7 separate regions of the Homo sapiens genome follow, and all the other regions are linked to region 6. Evidence: promoter capture Hi-C in 16 types of primary human blood cells and fetal thymus (Javierre and others, 2016). All regions are on one chromosome and are shown on one strand. The core of a region is centred on a gene start or on the middle of the fragment in contact, and the rest is flanking DNA. Distances in the headings are between cores, read along the strand shown.

What was found. Contacts are between HindIII fragments. The CHiCAGO score rates a contact against its expected background, and 5 or more counts as called.
Region 1: a contact is called between a fragment that was not itself captured here and the fragment with the promoter of INHBE in region 6, in 1 of 17 cell types (M2 macrophages). The highest score is 5.2, in M2 macrophages.
Region 2: a contact is called between a fragment that was not itself captured here and the fragment with the promoter of INHBE in region 6, in 5 of 17 cell types (naive CD4 T cells, naive CD8 T cells, naive B cells and 2 more). The highest score is 6.7, in naive CD4 T cells.
Region 3: a contact is called between a fragment that was not itself captured here and the fragment with the promoter of INHBE in region 6, in 3 of 17 cell types (M2 macrophages, naive CD8 T cells and erythroblasts). The highest score is 6.8, in M2 macrophages.
Region 4: the fragment with the promoter of DTX3 here is called in contact with the fragment with the promoter of INHBE in region 6 in 2 of 17 cell types (neutrophils and M2 macrophages); the score reaches 6.7 in neutrophils.
Region 5: a contact is called between a fragment that was not itself captured here and the fragment with the promoter of INHBE in region 6, in 4 of 17 cell types (naive CD8 T cells, total CD8 T cells, naive B cells and 1 more). The highest score is 8.7, in naive CD8 T cells.
Region 7: a contact is called between a fragment that was not itself captured here and the fragment with the promoter of INHBE in region 6, in 4 of 17 cell types (erythroblasts, M1 macrophages, naive CD8 T cells and 1 more). The highest score is 8.1, in erythroblasts.

What each region holds. Positions count from the first base shown.
Region 1 is chr12:57,642,672-57,645,371 of GRCh38, forward strand. No RefSeq gene overlaps it. Among named protein-coding and RNA genes, the nearest start is that of B4GALNT1, 11 kb to the left of the region's middle. The HindIII fragment of the contact is 3,621 bases long and covers 1-2,700 here.
Region 2 is chr12:57,626,640-57,629,339 of GRCh38, forward strand. B4GALNT1 (beta-1,4-N-acetyl-galactosaminyltransferase 1) reads right to left here. Exons shown (of 11, transcript NM_001478.5): 7 at 2,409-2,507; 8 at 2,074-2,264; 9 at 1,483-1,623; 10 at 979-1,219; 11 at 1-322. The coding sequence ends at 105. Among named protein-coding and RNA genes, the nearest start is that of B4GALNT1, 5.2 kb to the right of the region's middle. The HindIII fragment of the contact is 1,284 bases long and covers 641-1,924 here.
Region 3 is chr12:57,704,904-57,707,603 of GRCh38, forward strand. All of the region lies in intron 5 of OS9 (OS9 endoplasmic reticulum lectin), which reads left to right. Among named protein-coding and RNA genes, the nearest start is that of OS9, 12 kb to the left of the region's middle. The HindIII fragment of the contact is 1,629 bases long and covers 466-2,094 here.
Region 4 is chr12:57,603,489-57,606,188 of GRCh38, forward strand. It overlaps DTX3 (deltex E3 ubiquitin ligase 3), which reads left to right and starts at 1,336. Exons shown (of 7, transcript NM_178502.4): 1 at 1,336-1,370; 2 at 2,083-2,243. RefSeq lists enhancers at 706-1,217, 1,218-1,730. The HindIII fragment of the contact is 28,357 bases long and covers 1-2,700 here.
Region 5 is chr12:57,585,456-57,588,155 of GRCh38, forward strand. It overlaps KIF5A (kinesin family member 5A), which reads left to right. Exons shown (of 29, transcript NM_004984.4): 29 at 1-1,178. Among named protein-coding and RNA genes, the nearest start is that of PIP4K2C, 4.4 kb to the right of the region's middle. The HindIII fragment of the contact is 682 bases long and covers 961-1,642 here.
Region 6 is chr12:57,454,018-57,456,717 of GRCh38, forward strand. INHBE (inhibin subunit beta E) reads left to right here and starts at 1,290. Exons shown (of 2, transcript NM_031479.5): 1 at 1,290-1,817; 2 at 2,077-2,700. The coding sequence starts at 1,520. RefSeq lists an enhancer at 969-1,263. The HindIII fragment of the contact is 16,061 bases long and covers 1-2,700 here.
Region 7 is chr12:57,673,051-57,675,750 of GRCh38, forward strand. It overlaps the pseudogene RPL13AP23. Among named protein-coding and RNA genes, the nearest start is that of OS9, 20 kb to the right of the region's middle. The HindIII fragment of the contact is 216 bases long and covers 1,316-1,531 here.

The DNA of each region.
Region 1 (2,700 bases), core at 117-2,616, 190 kb after region 6:
CTCAAAAAAATAAAATAAAATAAAGATTAGGATGGAGGCTACCAGAGATTCATGCCCTATGCAAATGGCACATCTGGTCCTAACCAGTTTTTTGCACTCTATGTAAATCAGACACCGCCTCCCCATCAGCTCATCTATAAAACTCCCTGCATTTCACTGTGGATCCAGCAATCCATTTTTCCAGGACCCCTTTCTGTAGCAGAGAGCTATTCACTTTCTTTTGCCAATTAAACGTCCATTCTCTTTTTTTTTTTTTTGAGACGGAGTCCCTGTCTGTCGCCCAGGCTGGAGTGCAGTGGCGCAATCTTGGCTCACTGCAACCTCCGCCTCTTGGGTTCAAGTGATTCTCCTGCCTCAGCTTCCCAAGAACCTGGGATTACAGGCACCCACCACTACACCTGGCTAATTTTTGTATTTTTAGTAGAGATGGGGTTTCACCATGTTGACCAGGCTGCTCTCGAACTCCTGATCTCAGGTGATCTGCCTGCCTTGGCCTCCCAGAGAGCCGGGATTACAGGCATAAGCCACCGCGCCGAGCGTTTTTTTTTTTTTTTTTTTTTTTTTTTTTTTTTGGAGACAGAGTTTAGCTCTTGTAGCCCAGGCTGGAGTCAATGGTGTGATCTTGGCTCACTGCAACCTCTGCCCCCTGGGTTCAAGCAATTCTCCTGCCTCAGCCTCCCAAGTAGCTGGGATTACAGGTGCCTGCCACCACACCCAGCTAATTTTTGTATTTTTAGAGGAGACAGGGTTTCACCATGTTGGCCAGGCTGGTCTCGAACTCCTGACCTCAGGTGATCCACCCACCTTGGCCTCCCAAAGTGCTGGGATTACAGGCATGAGCCACCACGCCTGGCCCTAAACTTCCATTCTTAACCTCACTCTTGTGTGTTCGTGTCCTTGATCTTTGTGGCTGTGAGATAATAAACCTTGGGTATCACCCCAGACAATAAGGCTGCTTCAGTAATGAGATTTAAAAAAAATTTTTGTTTTTGAGATGGAGTCTTGCTCTGTTGCCCAGGCTGGAGTGCAGTGGTGCAATCTCAGCTCACTGCAGCTTCCACCTCCCAAGTTCAAATGATTCTCTTGCCTCAGCCTCCCAAGTAGCTGGGACTACAGGTGAGTGCTGCCATGCCTGGCTAATTTTTTGTATTTTTAGTAGAGATGGGGTTTCACCATGTTAGCCAGGATGGTCTTGATCTCCTGACCTTGTGATCTGCCAGCCTCAGCCTCCCAAAGTGCTGGGATTACAGGTGTGAGCCACCGCGCCTGGCCTAAAAAAAAAAACAAAAAAAAGAAAAAAAATTTTTTTAAAGCAGCTTAATGGTTAAAGTCAGCTTAATTAAAAGCTAACATCCAAAATGTATGTGTGTATGAGAGCGTGTGTATGTTTGTATTTAAAAGGCCTTCATGTTCGTTTTTTTTTTTTTTTTTTGAGACGGAGTTTAGCTCTTGCTGCCCAGGCTGCAGTGCAATGGCATAATCTCGGCTCACTGCAACTTCCGCCTCCTGGTTTCAAGTTATTCTCCTGCCTCAGCCTCCCAAGTAGCTGGGATTACAGGCACTCCACACCATGCCTGGCTAATTTTTTGTATTTTTAGTACAGATGGAATTTCACCATGTTGGTCAGGCTGGTCTTGAACTCCTGACCTCAGGTGATCCACCCACCTCAGCCTCCCAAAGTGCTGGGATTACAGGCATGAGCCACCACGCCCGGCCCTCTCTGTATCTTATGATGTAAATTTTGCTATTTAATTTTCACCTGGGTTATTTCCTTTAATATGCAAATTTAAGTCTGTTTTGCTAACAACTGCCTAGGGTTGTGAAGCAGGTTATCAAGAATCTGAAAGTCTAAGACAGGGGGAAAAAAAGGGTTTTTTGAATCTATAAGATGTACCTTGATAGGCATGAAATACATGCACATCTATGTATTTATGTGTTGTGTACACAATGTTTCACTACTGAAAATATATAAAAGAGCTCTAATTAATTGGCTTAAAGAAAAGTAAAAGTGCTTGAATCATATACTTTATCAAGAAAAAAGAAAAGACTAGTCAAATGCTTTTTCAAGTTTACAGAACTTAAGTAAAATCTTTAATAAATAAACTAGCTTTAAAATTATTGGTAAAATAATATTAGAAATGTCATAAGAATTGCCAGCATACATTTTTATTTGCATTTCTTAATCAAGCAATTTCATACTTATCCCTGCCAAATACTATAAGTTGTCAAAACTTGGCATAGGGCTTACAAAATTATAAACCTAGCCCAAGACAGAATAAAACTTTGCTTGTATAGTCTTTAATAAATAAGACATTGATATTGGTTTAATGAAAATAACTACATCTTGAATTATTTAATAAAATTACCATAACTTCTAATTCTGTGACTTTAGGCAGTCTAGTCCACAGGTAGTAATGAGGTTTGTTTTGGGAAAGAACTGCTATTTGTTTGAACTGCTATTAGTTTAGCTTTGTCTGAAAGCTAAACTATAAGCTAAGTTCCTCCCAAAGTCCAGGATGAGCAAGGGCAGTTTGGAGGTTAGAAGCAAGATGGAGTCAGTTAGGTTAAATCTTTTCACTGTCTCAGTTATAATTTTGCAATGGTGGTTCCATAACTTTAAACAATGACTATTGCAGTTTTCATAAATAATCTAGATAAAAAATTAGGCCAGGCATGGTGTCTCACACCTGTAATCCCAGC
Region 2 (2,700 bases), core at 33-2,532, 170 kb after region 6:
GGACAGCCAGTAGAGTGCTCACAGGGTGGTGGGGTTTGTTGGAAATTCCTGGCAGGGACAAGGAGGCAGGCCCAGCCTGACAGTCAGAAATCCCCAGCGGGCCATCACTGGGAGGTCATGCACTGCAGCCGGTGTTTGAAGAAGAGCAGCCGGTGTTTGGCCATCTGGCTCTCGTCCAGTGATCCTGGGTAACGGTACCGGGCGTAAGTCTCTGCTCCGGCATCCCTTGATGTCCAAGGCAGCTTCAGTTTGGATGCATGATCCACCACGACGTCGGAGCAGGAGCCAACCCGAAGGGAACCAAGCCCATCCAAGAAGAATTCTGGGGGTGGAGGGGAGTACACAGTGAGGGATCCTGAGGGTGCAGAAGGCCGACTGGTAAGGGAGAACTCTCAAATTTAGGGTGTGGAAAGTGTGTGTGCAAAGGCTTGTTTCTAAGGACCCTGAGCATGTAAATCAACTCCCTGGGTCTCAGTCTTACTCTTGTGTAAATGGAGTCAATATACTTGTGCTTTGAAAATCGAAAAACCTACCCCTACTCCCAGAGGTTAAATAAACGCCAGATGGGTTGCACCGACTGTGGTCTGAACTAGGGGAAGCCCTGGGAGTAGAGCAGGGGTGGCGGGAACAGTGATGGGGAAGCTTATGGGGGCCCAGCGGCTGTGCTGGGAATGGAGATTCAACATGGCACATGTATACACATGTAACAAACCTGCACGTTGTGCACATGTACCCTAGAACTTAAAGTATAACAAAAAATATATATATTTATAAAAAAAAAAAAAGAGTATGCGGGGCTGGGAGAGGGTGGGAGCTGTCTCTCGCCCAGGTGCAGGTCTTGGTAAATCACTGCAGAACTGTTCTGGGGTTCCCGCTGGCGGCTGGGCGCGGGTGCAGCCTAGGAGGAGAGGCGCGTGACCGTGCGCCAGCTCCCCGTGGGGCTCCTGCCAGGGTCGACCGGGAGGGGGTGCCACTCACCCAGATGAGCCACGCGGCTGAGGCGGGGGTCGAAACCGACCTCGCGCACCTTGTCAGTCCGCGCCAGGAAGAAGTTAACCACGCCGTCGGTGACCACGCAGCCTGGGAAGCCGACGAGCTCGTGGTGGAAGCCGCGCCTTTGCCGGAGGCAGTTCCCGAGGCCTGGGGCGCCGGGCTCCACGCTCAGCAGCTGCCGATAAGTGGTGGCAAAGCCGGAGATCTCGCGCACCGCGCCCCCCACCTGCAGGGAGAGGGAGGTTGCCTCCAGGCGGGCCTGGGATAGGGGACCCGAAGGGGTCAAGGTCTGCGCTCCGGTGCCTTCGGGGGTACCCCTGCCCCATCCTCTTCCGCTTCACCCCTGCAGGACCCAGACAGTTCCCAGGCCCCACTTCGTGGTTCTCTCTTTGTCCTAGGGCTGGCCGTTCCTGGCCGCAGCGCCCCCGCTGTGGCCTTAGCCTGTTCAAGGCCCTTCTCCACCCCCACATCCTGCAGCCCCTGCCCTACCAGGTCCAGCGGCGTCCGCTCCAGCACGTCCACAAGCCTCTCCAGCCGCGTCCGCGCCGTGAAGACGAAGTCGTCGTCCACCCACAGCACGTACTTGGTGGTTACTTGAGACACGGCCAGGTTCCGGCCTGCGAACCAGCCCTGGCAGAAAGGTGTGTGTGGTTGGGGAGGCTGCAGAAATAGGACATGGCCCTCTGCCACCTTTCTTTCTCTCCCCCGACCCTTCTCAGCTTGTATTCTTCTCCAGACTTTTGAGTGCTTTCGAAAGGCCAGGAGCTAGGTAAAAGAAATGCAGATCCCCACAGAGGTTCCAAGTCAGTGGTCTTAGAATGCGTTTAATTTCCGTGTGCATTTATTTATTCATTCATCAGCTATTTTATTGAATGCCATTAGGCACTAAGCACCATTCTAAGAATTCAGAGAGAATTTCCTGCTCCCACGAAGCTTACATTCCAGGAATCCTCATGCTTAACAGGCACCCCATGATTCTGAGGCAGGTGGTCCTCGAATCACTACCCTGGAGGCTGCAGATTGAGGGCACACCCCCTGCGGGAGTCCTCTGGCCTGCCGTTCAGCCTGCTAGCTGCACACCTTGCCGAAGGGCATGAGATAGTGTTCCACGTAGGGGCCACTAACGCGCTCTGGCTTGTCGCTGTCGTCAGCGATGACCACGGTAACCGTTGGGTAGAAGCGGCGGATACTGGTGATGAGAGCCCGTAGCCGATCATAACGGAGGAAGGTCTTGGTGGCAATCGTGACTAGAGCGCTGATGTTGTACTGGGCTGAGATTGGGGGCACAGGGTTGGGTGCAGACAAGGAGGGTTGGGAGAGGGGAACAGGTAGATATCCCCTCCCAGGACTGCCCTCTCCCAACTTGCTCCCCACCAAGGCTGGTTCTAATATGTCCCTGCCCCTACCAGCCTCACCTCCCTGGGGTAGAGACCCAGGTGGGTACAGCCGAGGGTTGGGCGGGTGTCTTATGCGGATAGTGAAAGCAGCCTCATGTCCCTCGGTGGAGAACCGGACTGGGAAGAAAGGACATGGCATTTGACCCTGAAGGGTGGGATAACATTCTGTTTTCAGCCAATCAATATTTAAGTGCCTACTCTGTGTCCCACCTTTCTAGGCCTTGGTGGACAAGAACAGAAGGTTCTTACCTTTATGGAACTTACATTCTAATGGGTAGGAGAAAAAACAACAAAGAAAATTTTAAGTAAA
Region 3 (2,700 bases), core at 30-2,529, 250 kb after region 6:
TGGACTACAATTCAGTAAAAATTTATCTTAATGTATGTTATAAGGTTAGGACCTAGATACACCTATTTTCCACAGTTGCCCCAGCACTGTTTATTGAATAGTCCATACATTCCTCTCTGATTTGTAATGCCTCCTCAGTTATTTACCAAGTTCTCAAATATATGTGCATTTTCTTCTTGGCTTCTCTTTTGTTCCAATAGTCTATCTATTCCTATGTCATTACCACGTTGTTTTAATTACTATAGCTTTTTCATAAATCTTGGTATCTGGTAGGATATACTCCCCTTTTTTCTTCAAAACTGTTGGGGCTATCATTGGCCAAGTTCTGTTAAAACTCCTTTTGGGGATTTTGGCTGGAATTTAATTTTAGACTGATTTGAAGAGAATTGATACTTTATAATATGAAGTCTTCATACACTATGAACGTGTTTGTTTCCATTTACTTGTTGTCCTATATTTTAGTAAAGCTTTAATTTTCTCTAAAAGTTCTTCTACATCTTATGTGAGATTAGTCTAGATACCTTATAGTTTTTATTTTTGTCTTGTTTGTGTATGCATATATTTCAAACATACAGGACCTTATAGTTTTAGATGCTATTTTAAGTAGCATCTTTTACAAATTTCATTTTCTTTATTATTATTATTTTTTGAGATGGGGTCTTGCTCTGTCATCAAGGCTGGGGTGCGATCTTGGCTCACTGCAGCCTCTGCCTCCCAGGTTCAAGTGATTCTCTGCCTCAACCTCCCGAGTAGCTGGGATTACAGGTGCGTACCACCACGCCCAGCTAATTATTGTAATTTTTTTAGAGCGGGGGTTTTGTCATATTGGCCAGGCTAGTCTCAAACTCCTGGCCTCATGTGATCCACCGTCGGCCTACTAAAGTGCTGGGATTACAGGCAATGAGCCACTGTGCCTGGCCAAAAATTCCGTTTTCTGATTGTTGCTGGTACATGGTCACATTATTGGTTTTACATATTGATCTTACACTCAGCAACTCTTTTTTGAACTCTTTCATTTTTAGTAGTTCACAAATTCTTGTGGATTTTCTGTATAGATAATTATGTCATCTGCAAGAGAAACAGTTTTGGTTTCTTCCTTTCTAAGTTGTATACATTTCATTTTTCTTATACCTCGAGTGCAACAGAAGTGGCAATGATGGGCATCCTTGACTTGTTTCTGACTTTAAAGGGGATGCTCCTGAAGTTTCACTGTTAGCGTGATGTTTTCCTGCAGGCTTTTTGCAGATACCTTTTATCAGGTATGTGAAGTTCCATTCTGTACCTAGACTGCTGGATATTTTCACCATGTATAGGTGTGGAAGTTTAACACATGCTTATTCTGTGTCTATTGAGATAGTCATATGGTTTTTTTAATATTAAAAATGTTAATTTATTTTCTAGTTTTTTTTTATTCTTTCACTTCTGGGATAATCCATGGTCATGAAGTTTTTTTTTTGTACATTGCTATATTCAGTATCCTGATAGTATAATTAACTTTTATAACTATTTTCGTAAGTGAATTGGTCTATAATTTTCTCTTCTTGTACTTACCTTGTTTTTGTATAAAGTTGCATTCACTTCATAAAATATCTTGAGGAGCTTCCCTCTTTTTCTGCTCTGTGGAGCAGTTTGCTAAGATAGAGATTATTCTTCAAAGGTTAGGTAGGGTCGGGTGTGGTGGCTCATGCCTGTAATCCCAACACTTTGGGAGGCCAAGGCAGGAAGATTTCTTGAGCCTAGGAGCCCAGCCTGAGCAACATAGTGAGACTCCTGTCTCTCAAAAAAAAAGTTTTAAATTAGCCTGATGTGGTGGTGTACACCTGTAGTCCCAGTTACTTGGGAGGCTGAAGCAGGAGGATTGCTTTAGTTGGAGAGGTTGAGGCTGTTAGGAGCTGTTATCACGCCACTGGACTCCAGCCTGGGTGACAGAGCATGACTCTCTGAAAAAAAAAAAAAAAAAAAAAAAGTTTAGATAAAATAAATCCTCCCCATCCCCACAATATGCTACAAAACCGGTATATTGGGGGGATCGTTGTTGCTACTGATTTAATTTATTTAAAGATTATAAGACTTTTTTGGTTTGCTGCATCATGAAGCTTTAATAAAGTATAATTTCATAGGCCATTATTCATTTGTCTAAATTTTCAAATGTATTAGTATAAAATTACAGATTTTTTTGTTTTTTAATAATCTCTTTTTGTAAATATATCCTCTTTTGCATTCCTAATATTGACTTTGCCTTTTCTCTTTTTTCTTGATCTATGTTGCCAGAGGCTTGTCTAGTTTATTAGTCCAATAACCACCTTTTGGTTTTGTTTATCCTCTCTGTTGTTCATTTAGTATTTCACTAACATTGTATTAGTCCATTCTCACATTGTTATAAAGAAATACCTGTGACTGGGCAATTTATAAAGAAAAGAGGTTTAATTGTCTCACAGTTGTGCTGGCCATACAGGAAGCATAGCAGCCTCTACTTCTGAGGAGGATTTAGGAAGCTTCCAATCATGGTGAAAGGCAAGTGGGGAGCCAGAGTCTCACATGGTGGAAGCAGGAGCAAAAGAGAGAGGGGGGACATGCCACAACCAGATCTCTTGAGAACTCACTCACTGTCACGAGAAAGCACCAAGGGGATGGTGCTTTATGCTCCACTATGCCCAGCTAATTTTTTTATTTTTAGTAGAGACGGGGTTTCTTCATGTT
Region 4 (2,700 bases), core at 86-2,585, 150 kb after region 6:
GTGCAGAGACCAGCTGAAGAATTCTGGTGTTCAAGGTGTTGGGCCCCTAACTAAGGATGTGGGTTTCTAGACAGATGGCTGTGAACTTTTTTAAAAAGGCTGTGAAGGGTGTGCACGGGAATGGAAAACTTAGTCTTTAACCTTGTGGGAGGTCAGCGGTAGTGAGGGCCAGGGAAGAGTAGGGTGATGGGACCCTTCCTCTTCCCAGAGTTCTGGGCTTGCTAACACTCCATCTTTGTAAAGGTGAGTAGGCCTCTCAGCCCACCAGCTAAAAGAAAAGGAATCTAGTATTCCCCCAGGCTTCCTGGGAAAGCTGTCCTCTTCCTGGAGGGAAGGAAGAGTACAGCAGGGTCCTGGGAAAGTGAAGAAAGTGACTAGCCCTCCAGTCTAGAGGGGGGAGTGAAAAAGGGGTGGATGAATAGAGGTTGTTGCCAGTTTGGGAGATTCCTGCCTGTCTTGGCTGAGGAAGTCTTTTGGCTGGTGGAAAAACCTGGCTTGATGTGGCCCCAGGGAAGTGAGTTGGATTGGGCGGAGACTGCTTGATGTGGGAAGCAGAGCAGAGCTTTTTTTTTTTCTTCTTTGAGAGTTTTTAACTCTATTTGAACCATACACTTGACACCACCACCACCTCGAGCCACTTTTTAAAAAATGTATTCGCTTCCCATTCTGCACCAGCCTCCATATCCCTGTTTGTGGAAAGAAAAATCAGAGGCACTGACCAATGATCATCTGAGAGCAGGTTGTGGGGGTCATAGGAGGTAACAATCTAGAAAGAGGCAGGAGATGAGGGAGGGGATTGAAATAGTTTAGTACCCGGATTTGTTTATTTTTTAGAGCCAATGCTTTTCTTTTTACTATGACTCTTCCCATCCCACATTGTTCCTCAAAGGCCCTTCTACCATAAGGATTCAAAAAATTGCCGCCCTCCCCCCGAATCCCCATATACCCACCAACACTTCACCCACCCATCCACCACCAGCTCCTGGGAGCTGCTACGCAGCTGGCTGGGAAAGAAAAGGGAGAGTGCTCCGCCGGGAGCGGGGAGCGAGTAGGGTGGCGTCTCCAGGGATTTAACCTCCTACCCTCAGTTCCATGACGCCACCCCCTCCCTCCAAAGACTGGGACAGCGCCTCCATTTTTGTTTTGGGGAGGAAGGGCAGGGGCTTGCGGATAGAAGGGGGTCAAAGGAACGGTGATTATCACCTGTGAGGGGAAAGGGGGTGCTGTCCTCCCTCCTTCCCTTTTCCTCAGCCTGCACCCCCTGCAATCCCCCACCTTTCGGGGTCTCCCCCTCCTTGTTGCTAAGGCCCGGACCGTCATCCCAGCAACAGCCTCAGTCATGTGACCGGCAATGGCGGCGCTGACGAGAGGTAGGTGAGCCCGGCGCCCCCCACACCCACCGCGCGCCCCCCGGGCCCCGCTCGCACCCCTCACGCGCCCCCCGCTCCCCCGGCGCCCCCTCCTCCACCTCCCCTCCCCGCGCGCGGCTCCGGGCTCCCCGCTCCGTGCCCGGCCGATCATCTTTCTAGCACCCTCCAGCCTTGGCCTCCATTCGGGGGTTCTGAGGGCTGCGATCGGGCCGACATGCACCCCCACCCGGCGGTGGGGATCCGGGGGCTTTGGCTACTGAGGGATGTGGGGAGTTGGTTCCGGGTCGGGTCTTGGAGGAGGCCGTGGGGGGAGGGCGGGAGCTGCTTCAGTGGATGCCCCCAGGGACCCTTGCCCATCCGGGCTGTGCCTCCCTCTGGCCTCTGTCTGGAGGGAGAGACTGGTTCCTTGTCCGGCCTGGGTTGCCACAGAGGAATCACAGACCCACCCTAAACTGGGGCCCCGCCTCCCTTTTCTGTGCCAGCAGGACTTGGACCTAGGACACCTAGGTCCTGGGTCCCCCGTGATGGGGAGAGAAGTGTTGCATCGCGGATAGACTGTATGGGCTGAGACTCTAGGGTTCCATTTTCACTTATGAATCTCGAGGTGCATCTGGCCTTGGGGGACGATGATGGAGGCATGAAGGGACAGCTGCTCCTTCTTGGATCAGTCAATAAATGGAGGTCACACTAATGGCCCTTCTTTCTGTTTGAGCTGCATTTGGAAGTGTTGTGGAGACAGCCCCGTAGCCCAATGCGACCAGACTCAGGGAAAACATCAGGCCCCTCCAGCTGAGCCCTTGTGTGAGCCCCGCCCCTCCCTAAATGCCAGACTTGGGAGCTGACAGACAGCACTGCCTGTGCTGGGTTTAAAAGGTGACAATGAGAACTTTGTTATTGCAGGGGCTGCTGCCACTTTGTTCACATCCTTAACAGACTTCAGCAGAAGGGACTGAGTTAGCTCTCAAGGAAGGCTCCCTGGCAATAGGGGCTGAATTATTTGGCAATGTGGAGCAGGCGAGGAGTTGGGGAGCATAGGAAATATTCCGGTCCATGTGATCTGAGGGAGGTGGCAAGAAGACCTCCACCTGTGTGGGCGTTTTCTTTCCTGACTTCTCTTATGTGTGCCCTAGGCTTTCTTGGGGGCCTCAGAGCTGGGGAAGAAAGGAGGAAGGTTAGCATGTTGAAGTTCCTTCTTGAGCAACTTGGGGAGAAGCTGATAATGGAATTCTGCAGAGAAGAGAGGAGATGGAAGGGGAGTTTTTATTTCTGGGTTGGCTGAGGGGAATGGTAACATTTGCCATCATAACTTTTTACCCTTCCCCCACTCCCA
Region 5 (2,700 bases), core at 52-2,551, 130 kb after region 6:
TACTGAAGAGGACTGTTGTTTTAGTTTCAGACGGTCCTTTCCTTCCACATGGTGCTAAGGTGGTTTTCTAGGTAACTGCAGGGATGGAGGTCACTAGCCATTCCAAACCAGGAGAGAAAGTCTGGTGTCCTGATATCCAGTCTTTTCTAGGAGGAAGACCAAGATTCTCCAGCGGCAGGGCAGCCTATCACCCAACTTCTAAGTCAGGAAAGGAAGCTGAGTGGGAATGCCAGCTGGTAAGCGCAGGCTGCACTGGCCCATGACTCCTTCAAGGAAAAGAGGCCCTGCTCCCTTTACCTGCTGAGCTCCTTTTAGCAGTTAGGGAGAACTGCAGGGGGAAAAATACCAGTGGAGTGTGGAATAAATCCAAAGCAGTGATTTTTAAATGTTTTTCAAAAACAAATCTTACATAGAACCCCAATATAAAAAATAAAGTAATGCAGACCTGGGCAGTTTGCATTTTTTTTTTTTTTTTTTTTTGGTGGAAGAAGTCTCAGCGTCTCTTAGGACTGACTGTTCAAAGGCTCCTCAGCAAATGAGCCCTTGAACAGTCCTAAGAGACCCTGAGGATTCTGTGGAGTAGTTTGAAAACCATTGTTCTGAGGAAGGGGGTCCAATCTGGCTCCTCTGCACTAAAGCTGCAACTCATGGAAAAGAGGGCAACGGTGGGGTAGACAAGCCATGCTGTCTCCAGACCCACTAGGGTGGAAGGAAGGTTCCTGTGGGCCTGTGGACTTAGGCTAATATTTGCTGTCAGCAGGGCACTTAAGAATCCAGGGGGTTTTATGTAATGTTGCCACCACATGGTTCTTTTAAAAACACATAAGGAAATGTGAGGGTGTAGCGCAGATGAGGAGAGAGATGACACAGAGGGAGCAGCCTTCTCTTTAGCAAGATGTAAGGGAAATATAATTCACTTACATAAAAAAGAAACAACACACACGCAAACCCTTCACCAGAAGCTTCACACTACATCCTCCTCCTCCTCCTGCTCCCCACCTTCACCGCATCCCTTTCAGAGCCAGGGTCACTGCAAGGGGCACCTGGCCTGCCCACTCACATCTGCCAAAATGTTGCATGCCAGCGTGGAAGACAAACCAAACTGCGCAACCCCCTGTGTGTATTTACTTGGTGTACATAGATAACTTTAAAATAAAATAAATTCAATGATAACTCTATGTTGTTGTAAATATTCTTTATCCCTTCCCAATCTCACTGCCTTCTTTGGATGAAATGGAACTTGATAGAATATATCCTTCCAGATGTTTTTCTATAGATTTACATAAGGCTTGATTTTTTTCCTACTTGACAATATATCCTGGAGATCTTTGTATGTCAATATATATCAATTGACCTCATTAAAATATAATTTTTCACATATTTATCCTACAGTTCATTCAACCAGTCTACGACTGGTGGATATCTATACTGTTTGTAATTTTTACCAAAAGCACTATCTTGTTCTTTCATTTTTGACCCAGAGCAGTCTCAGTCCTGGCATCAATTCCTTCCCACTCCAGTGTTTCACCATCTCTCCACAGCCAACAGATCAATATTCCTGTCCCAGGATCATCCACTACAATCACCCTTCCAACCCCCATTTTAAAGCATACTCCACCTCTCTTCTCTGCTCATATCTCAAAGCTTCTCAGATGGAGAAAACTGCACACCCAAAAAACTGGGGCAAGTAAAACTGAAGAGCCTACAAACCTGCCCGGACTTTCGGTGCTTCTCACTTTCCTCTCCTATCTCCCAGAGCAAGGGTCTACACCCTTTCCACCCTCCTCTGTCAGGCAACAACTTTGTCATCTAAGGCACTTGAGCCTGAAATTCTTTTATCTTGCCCCCTGCCCACATGCACCTACACAATTACCTATCTGTGTCTGCACTTATCCTTTCCTTCTCCCTTCTGACCAGTGATAAATCTCCTTTCTCTGGGCTAAAGTGAATCCCTTCTAGATATTTCATTCTTGAGATACTGATATAGAATCTCAATATACAAATATATAACATATCTAAAACTGATAAACTGATGGAGACTTGAGGAGTTTGCATCTTTTTTTTTTTTTTAAAACAGAGTCTCGCTCTGTTGCCCAGGCTGGAGTGCAGCGGCACAATCTCGGCTCACAGCAACCTCCGCCTCTCAGGTTCAAGCAATTCTCCTGCTTCAGCCTCCTGAGTATCTGGGACTACATGTGCACACCACCATGCCCGGCTAATTTTTGCATTTTTAATGGAGATGGGTTTTCACCATGTTGGCCAGGCTTGTCTCAAACTCCTGGCCTCAAGTGATCCGCCCGCCTCGGTGCATCTTCTTTATTAATGCCTGTCTCAGTGGTCTCATCTCCTTGTAAGGTCCTTCCCATAAGAGTCCCTCCCTTTACTGTGTGTTTCTCTAACTGTGTGTTTCTCTATCTTACTTGTTTTCTTAAAGTCAGATATCCAGAAACCATCCCAAGCTTCCCATCCCCACTTCCTCACCCCCTATTCATTCCTTAGCCCACCTTGATCTGCCTCTTGTTCTGCTCAAAACTGCTTTTCCAAATGGCATTAGTTACCAAATACAGTGGACATTTCTTCTGGACAACAGTCCTTGTTTTGCTTCACCTCTCCATGACATATACTTCTTCACTCCTTCCTTCTTGAAACTCAACTCCCCTTGGCTTTTGTGACCCTGCTGTCTTGGCTCCCTGTACTTCC
Region 6 (2,700 bases), core at 40-2,539:
CAGTGAGAAAATGTGGTCAGGAGGGCTGAGACTGGGAACCAAGACTGCTGTATTTGCCTTGCTTTGTTGTCAAAAGCTCTTAGAGCTCCCATTTTCTACCCCCATTAACAGGCCTGAAGGGTGGTGCGGTGGCTCACGCCTGTAACCTCAGCACTTTAGGAGGCTGAGGCAAGTGGATTGCTTGAGCCCAGGAGTTCAAGACCAGCCTGGGCAACATAGCGAGACCCTGTCTCTGTGGGAAATTTAAAAATTAGCCAGGTGTGGTGGTGCGCACCTGTAGTCCCAACTACTAAGGAGGCTGAGGCAGAAGGATTGTCTGAGCCCAGGAATTCAAGGCTGCAGTGAGCTATGATTGTGCCACTACACTCCAGCCTGAACAACAGATTGAGACCTTACCTCAGTAAAATAAAATAAAATTTAAATTTTAAAAATGTAAGAAAAAAAGGAGGCCTGGCACTACTTCTAGGATGCCCCAAATTTAGGCAACTCTCACAGTCCCTTGAAAGAGAAGTGGCAGCTGGGTATAGGCCCTCCCAAGTGTCATGCCCCCTGACAGTCCTGATGGACTCTGCCCTGTGTAAGATTGCATCACCACCACCACCACCTCTCTGGGCTTCCCCAGACATCACAGGAACACGTTCCCCGCCCCAACCCCCGCCGGCTCTGGCCCTCCTCCACATCATGCTCCACATCATGCTCCAGGCCAACTGGACTCTGGGCGGCCAGCACAGGCAGGGTCAGGGGGTGACTTCTGTGCCTCGTGGCACTGCCACCTGGGCCTGAGCAAGAGGGCTCCATTCTCCTACCCGCCCAAACCCTCATCCCTGTCCTAGCCCCAGTGCTAGAAATAAAGAGACCAGAATTTTCCTTCTGGCCTAAGGGCCCCAGAGGAATACCCACTGGAACTCACAGCTGCCTCATGGAAACTGCTGCAGCAGTGGTGAAGCTAGAAAGACTAGAGGTATGAGGGAAAATTGCCCTTCCCCACCTGGCTCATAAGGCGTTCCCTCCCCCAAGTCCCAGACCTTGGGGACTGAGCATGTGAAATCATCCTCTTTCTTGCATCATGCGTGTCCACATTGCACCCCCCCACCCCCATACCCCTACTTCAGGCCCAGTCACCATGGCCAGATGGTGAAACCTGAGCTGATGGGGAGGAGGACCTCCACCCCCTGCAGGGGCCTGATGGGCAGCACAGCTGGCCAATCCTGGGACTCAGAGGGTAGGTCGGCTGGCTGACCACTAGGTTTGGAAGACCCAGGCAGCTGGCTCTAAAGAGGCCCCAGGTCAGTAGCCAGACATGAGCTGTGAGGGTCAAGCACAGCTATCCATCAGATGATCTACTTTCAGCCTTCCTGAGTCCCAGACAATAGAAGACAGGTGGCTGTACCCTTGGCCAAGGGTAGGTGTGGCAGTGGTGTCTGCTGTCACTGTGCCCTCATTGGCCCCCAGCAATCAGACTCAACAGACGGAGCAACTGCCATCCGAGGCTCCTGAACCAGGGCCATTCACCAGGAGCATGCGGCTCCCTGATGTCCAGCTCTGGCTGGTGCTGCTGTGGGCACTGGTGCGAGCACAGGGGACAGGGTCTGTGTGTCCCTCCTGTGGGGGCTCCAAACTGGCACCCCAAGCAGAACGAGCTCTGGTGCTGGAGCTAGCCAAGCAGCAAATCCTGGATGGGTTGCACCTGACCAGTCGTCCCAGAATAACTCATCCTCCACCCCAGGCAGCGCTGACCAGAGCCCTCCGGAGACTACAGCCAGGGAGTGTGGCTCCAGGGAATGGGGAGGAGGTCATCAGCTTTGCTACTGTCACAGGTGGGTGAGGGAGAGAGCAACAGGCAAAGAGCAGACAGGGAAAGGGAGGCAGAAGGGGAGCCTGGCAGGAGCAGCAGAGGGAGTGGGGTGTGGCAGGAGAAGGAGGAGCTGGGGCAGGGACTGGTTGCAGAGGACACAAAGCAGTCTCTACTTTTCTAGAGGTAGGTTCGAGGGAGAGCAGTGGGCAGGGCTTGGGGAGTCTCAGAGGAGAGCTTCATCTCTACTCACATTTTCTTTCCCTTTTCTGTCTTTCGGGCAGACTCCACTTCAGCCTACAGCTCCCTGCTCACTTTTCACCTGTCCACTCCTCGGTCCCACCACCTGTACCATGCCCGCCTGTGGCTGCACGTGCTCCCCACCCTTCCTGGCACTCTTTGCTTGAGGATCTTCCGATGGGGACCAAGGAGGAGGCGCCAAGGGTCCCGCACTCTCCTGGCTGAGCACCACATCACCAACCTGGGCTGGCATACCTTAACTCTGCCCTCTAGTGGCTTGAGGGGTGAGAAGTCTGGTGTCCTGAAACTGCAACTAGACTGCAGACCCCTAGAAGGCAACAGCACAGTTACTGGACAACCGAGGCGGCTCTTGGACACAGCAGGACACCAGCAGCCCTTCCTAGAGCTTAAGATCCGAGCCAATGAGCCTGGAGCAGGCCGGGCCAGGAGGAGGACCCCCACCTGTGAGCCTGCGACCCCCTTATGTTGCAGGCGAGACCATTACGTAGACTTCCAGGAACTGGGATGGCGGGACTGGATACTGCAGCCCGAGGGGTACCAGCTGAATTACTGCAGTGGGCAGTGCCCTCCCCACCTGGCTGGCAGCCCAGGCATTGCTGCCTCTTTCCATTCTGCCGTCTTCAGCCTCCTCAAAGCCAACAATCCTT
Region 7 (2,700 bases), core at 174-2,673, 220 kb after region 6:
ACTCAAATGTTAATCTCCTTTGGTAAGACCCTCACAGACACACCCAGGAACAATACTTCGCATCCTTCAATCAAGTTGATACTCAGTATTAACACACCAATTTAAAGTGTAGATTCAATGGTTTTTAGTATATTCACAGAGTTGTGCACTACAATCAGTTCTAGAACATTTTTATCACCCCCAAAAAAACTCTGCACCCGTTAGCAGTCACTACCCATTTCCCAACTTTCAGTGAGCTCCCCAGCCCAACGTAACCTCTTATCTACTTTCTGTCCATTGAATTACCTATTCTGGGCATTTCATATAAATGTAATCACACAATATGTGGTTTTGAAGACTAGCTTTGTTCACTTAGCCTCTTTTATCCTCTTTTCTCTTTTTTTTTGAGATGGAGTCCTGCTCTGTCACCCAGGCTGGAGTGCAGTGGCGCAATTTCAGCTCACCGCAACCTTGGCTGGCCTCCCGGGTTCAAGCAATTCTCCTGCCTCAGCCTCCCAAGTAGCTGAGATTATAGGCACCCGCCACCATGCTCGACTAATTTTTTTTTGTATTTTTAGTAGAATGTGGTTTCACCATGTTGGCCAGGCTGGTCTCGAACTCCTGGCCTCAGGTGATCCGCCCGCCTTGGCCTCCCAAGGTGCTGGGATTACACGCATGAGCCACCGCACCTGGCCTAGAGTATATGTTTTGTACTTCTTTGCTACGTGTGTTTCTAATTATTTTATTCTTTTTGACGGTATTGCAAATGAAATTATGTTCTTTTGTTCTTAGATTGTTCATTGCAAGTGTATAGAAATACAATTGATTCTTGTATTCTGCAACCTTGTTGAATTCTTCTATTAGTTCTAATAGATTTTTTAGTGAATTCCTTAGGATATTTTAGATATAAGGTCATCTGCAAATAGAGATGGTTTTGTTTTTCTCTCCAATCTGTATGCCTTTTACATTCATTCATTCATCTACATACAACATTCATCTTCTTGCCTAATTACACTGGCTAGAATGTCCGGTACAATGTCAAATAGAAATGGTAAGAGTAGGTATTCTTGTCTTATTCCTAATATTAGAGAGAGTAATCATTCATTTTTTACCAAAAAGTATGATATTAGTTGTGGGTTTTTTGTAGATGCTTGATGACTTTTATCAGGTTGATTAAGTCCCTTTATCTTCCTGGTTTATTAAATGTTTTTATCATGAAGAGATGTTGAATTTTGTCAAATGTCTTTTCTGTGTCTACTAAGATGACCATGTGGTTTTTGTCCTTTAGTCTATGGATAGGATGTACAACATTAATTTTATTTCTTATGTTAACTCAAGCTTTCATTCCTGGGATAAATCCCACTTGGTCGTGGTATATAATCCTTTTTATTTGTTGTTGAATTCATGGTAATTTGTGGAGAATTTCTGGGTCTATATTCATAAGAAATAGTCTACAGTTTTCTTGTATTGTGTTTGTCTGATTTTGGTATCTGAGTAGTATTACCTCATTGAATGGGCTTGGAAGAGCTTCATTTTCTTCTATTTTTGGAAAAGCTTGTGAAGAAATAGTATTGACATTTTCTTCATGGGAAGTTTCTGATTTATAATTCAATCTTTTCTAGGAGGCTGCTGAAGATGGCGGAGGGGCAGGTCCTAGTGCTCGATGGCCGAGGTCACCTCCTGGGCTGCCTGGCGGCCATCGTGGCTAAGCAGGTGCTGCTGGGCCGGAAGGTGGTGATCGTGCGCTGCGAGGGCATCGACATTTCTGGCAATTTCTACGGAAACAAGTTGAAGTACCTGGCTTTCCTCCGCAAGCGGATGAACACCAGCCCTTCCCGAGGCCCCACGTCTTCTGGCAGAGCTTGCGAGCCGGGCCGCCCCACGACAGCAGCCAGCCAGGCCGCCTAGGACCTGCCGCCAGGTGTTCGGTGGCGTCCCACCGCCCCGTGAGAGGAAAAAGCGGATGGTGCTTCCTGTTGCCCCCAAGGTTGTGCGTCTGAAGCCTACGAGAAAGTTCGCCTACCTGGGGTACCTGGCTCACGAGATTGGCTGAAAGTACCAGACCGTGACAGCCACCCTGGAGGAGAAGGGGAAGGAGAAAGCCAAGATCCAGGACCAGAAGAAACAACTCCTGAGGCTATGGAGACAGGCCGAAAAGAATGTGGAGAAGAAAATTGACAAATACAGGGAGGTCCTCAAGGCCCACGGACTCCTGGCCTGAGCCCGGTAAAGACTGTTTATTACTTATGCTTGGCCTGGCCTGCCCTTCCTCCATCGTGGCCCTGGAATGTGGGAGACCCAGGGGCAGCAGTCCAGGTGCCACAGGCAGCCTGGGACTTAGGAAGCTTGGGAGCAAGGAAAGGGTCTTAGTCACTGCCTTTCAATAAGGTTACTTAAAGCCCTCGAAGAATTGTGCAGGCATAATTCATCTGTGACCAATAGAGCAACAAATTACTTCAGTTTCAATATCAGCGAAAGGGAGCTGGAACACTAATTGGAGGGGCCCTACCTTGTGAGCAGGGCATCTGTTTAACTTCCCAACTAGTCATACACTATACTTTGCAGCTGTTAGAATGTGAACAAGCGCTTGGGGGACAGCATTAGCTTGCTGTTGTACGAAGGGTATTTATAAAAGCACAGACTGGGAAGATGTGTGATCAAGGAGTTACAGGCATTGCCCGTGCTTCTTGCCTGTATTTTGTGATCGGAATCAAATAAATT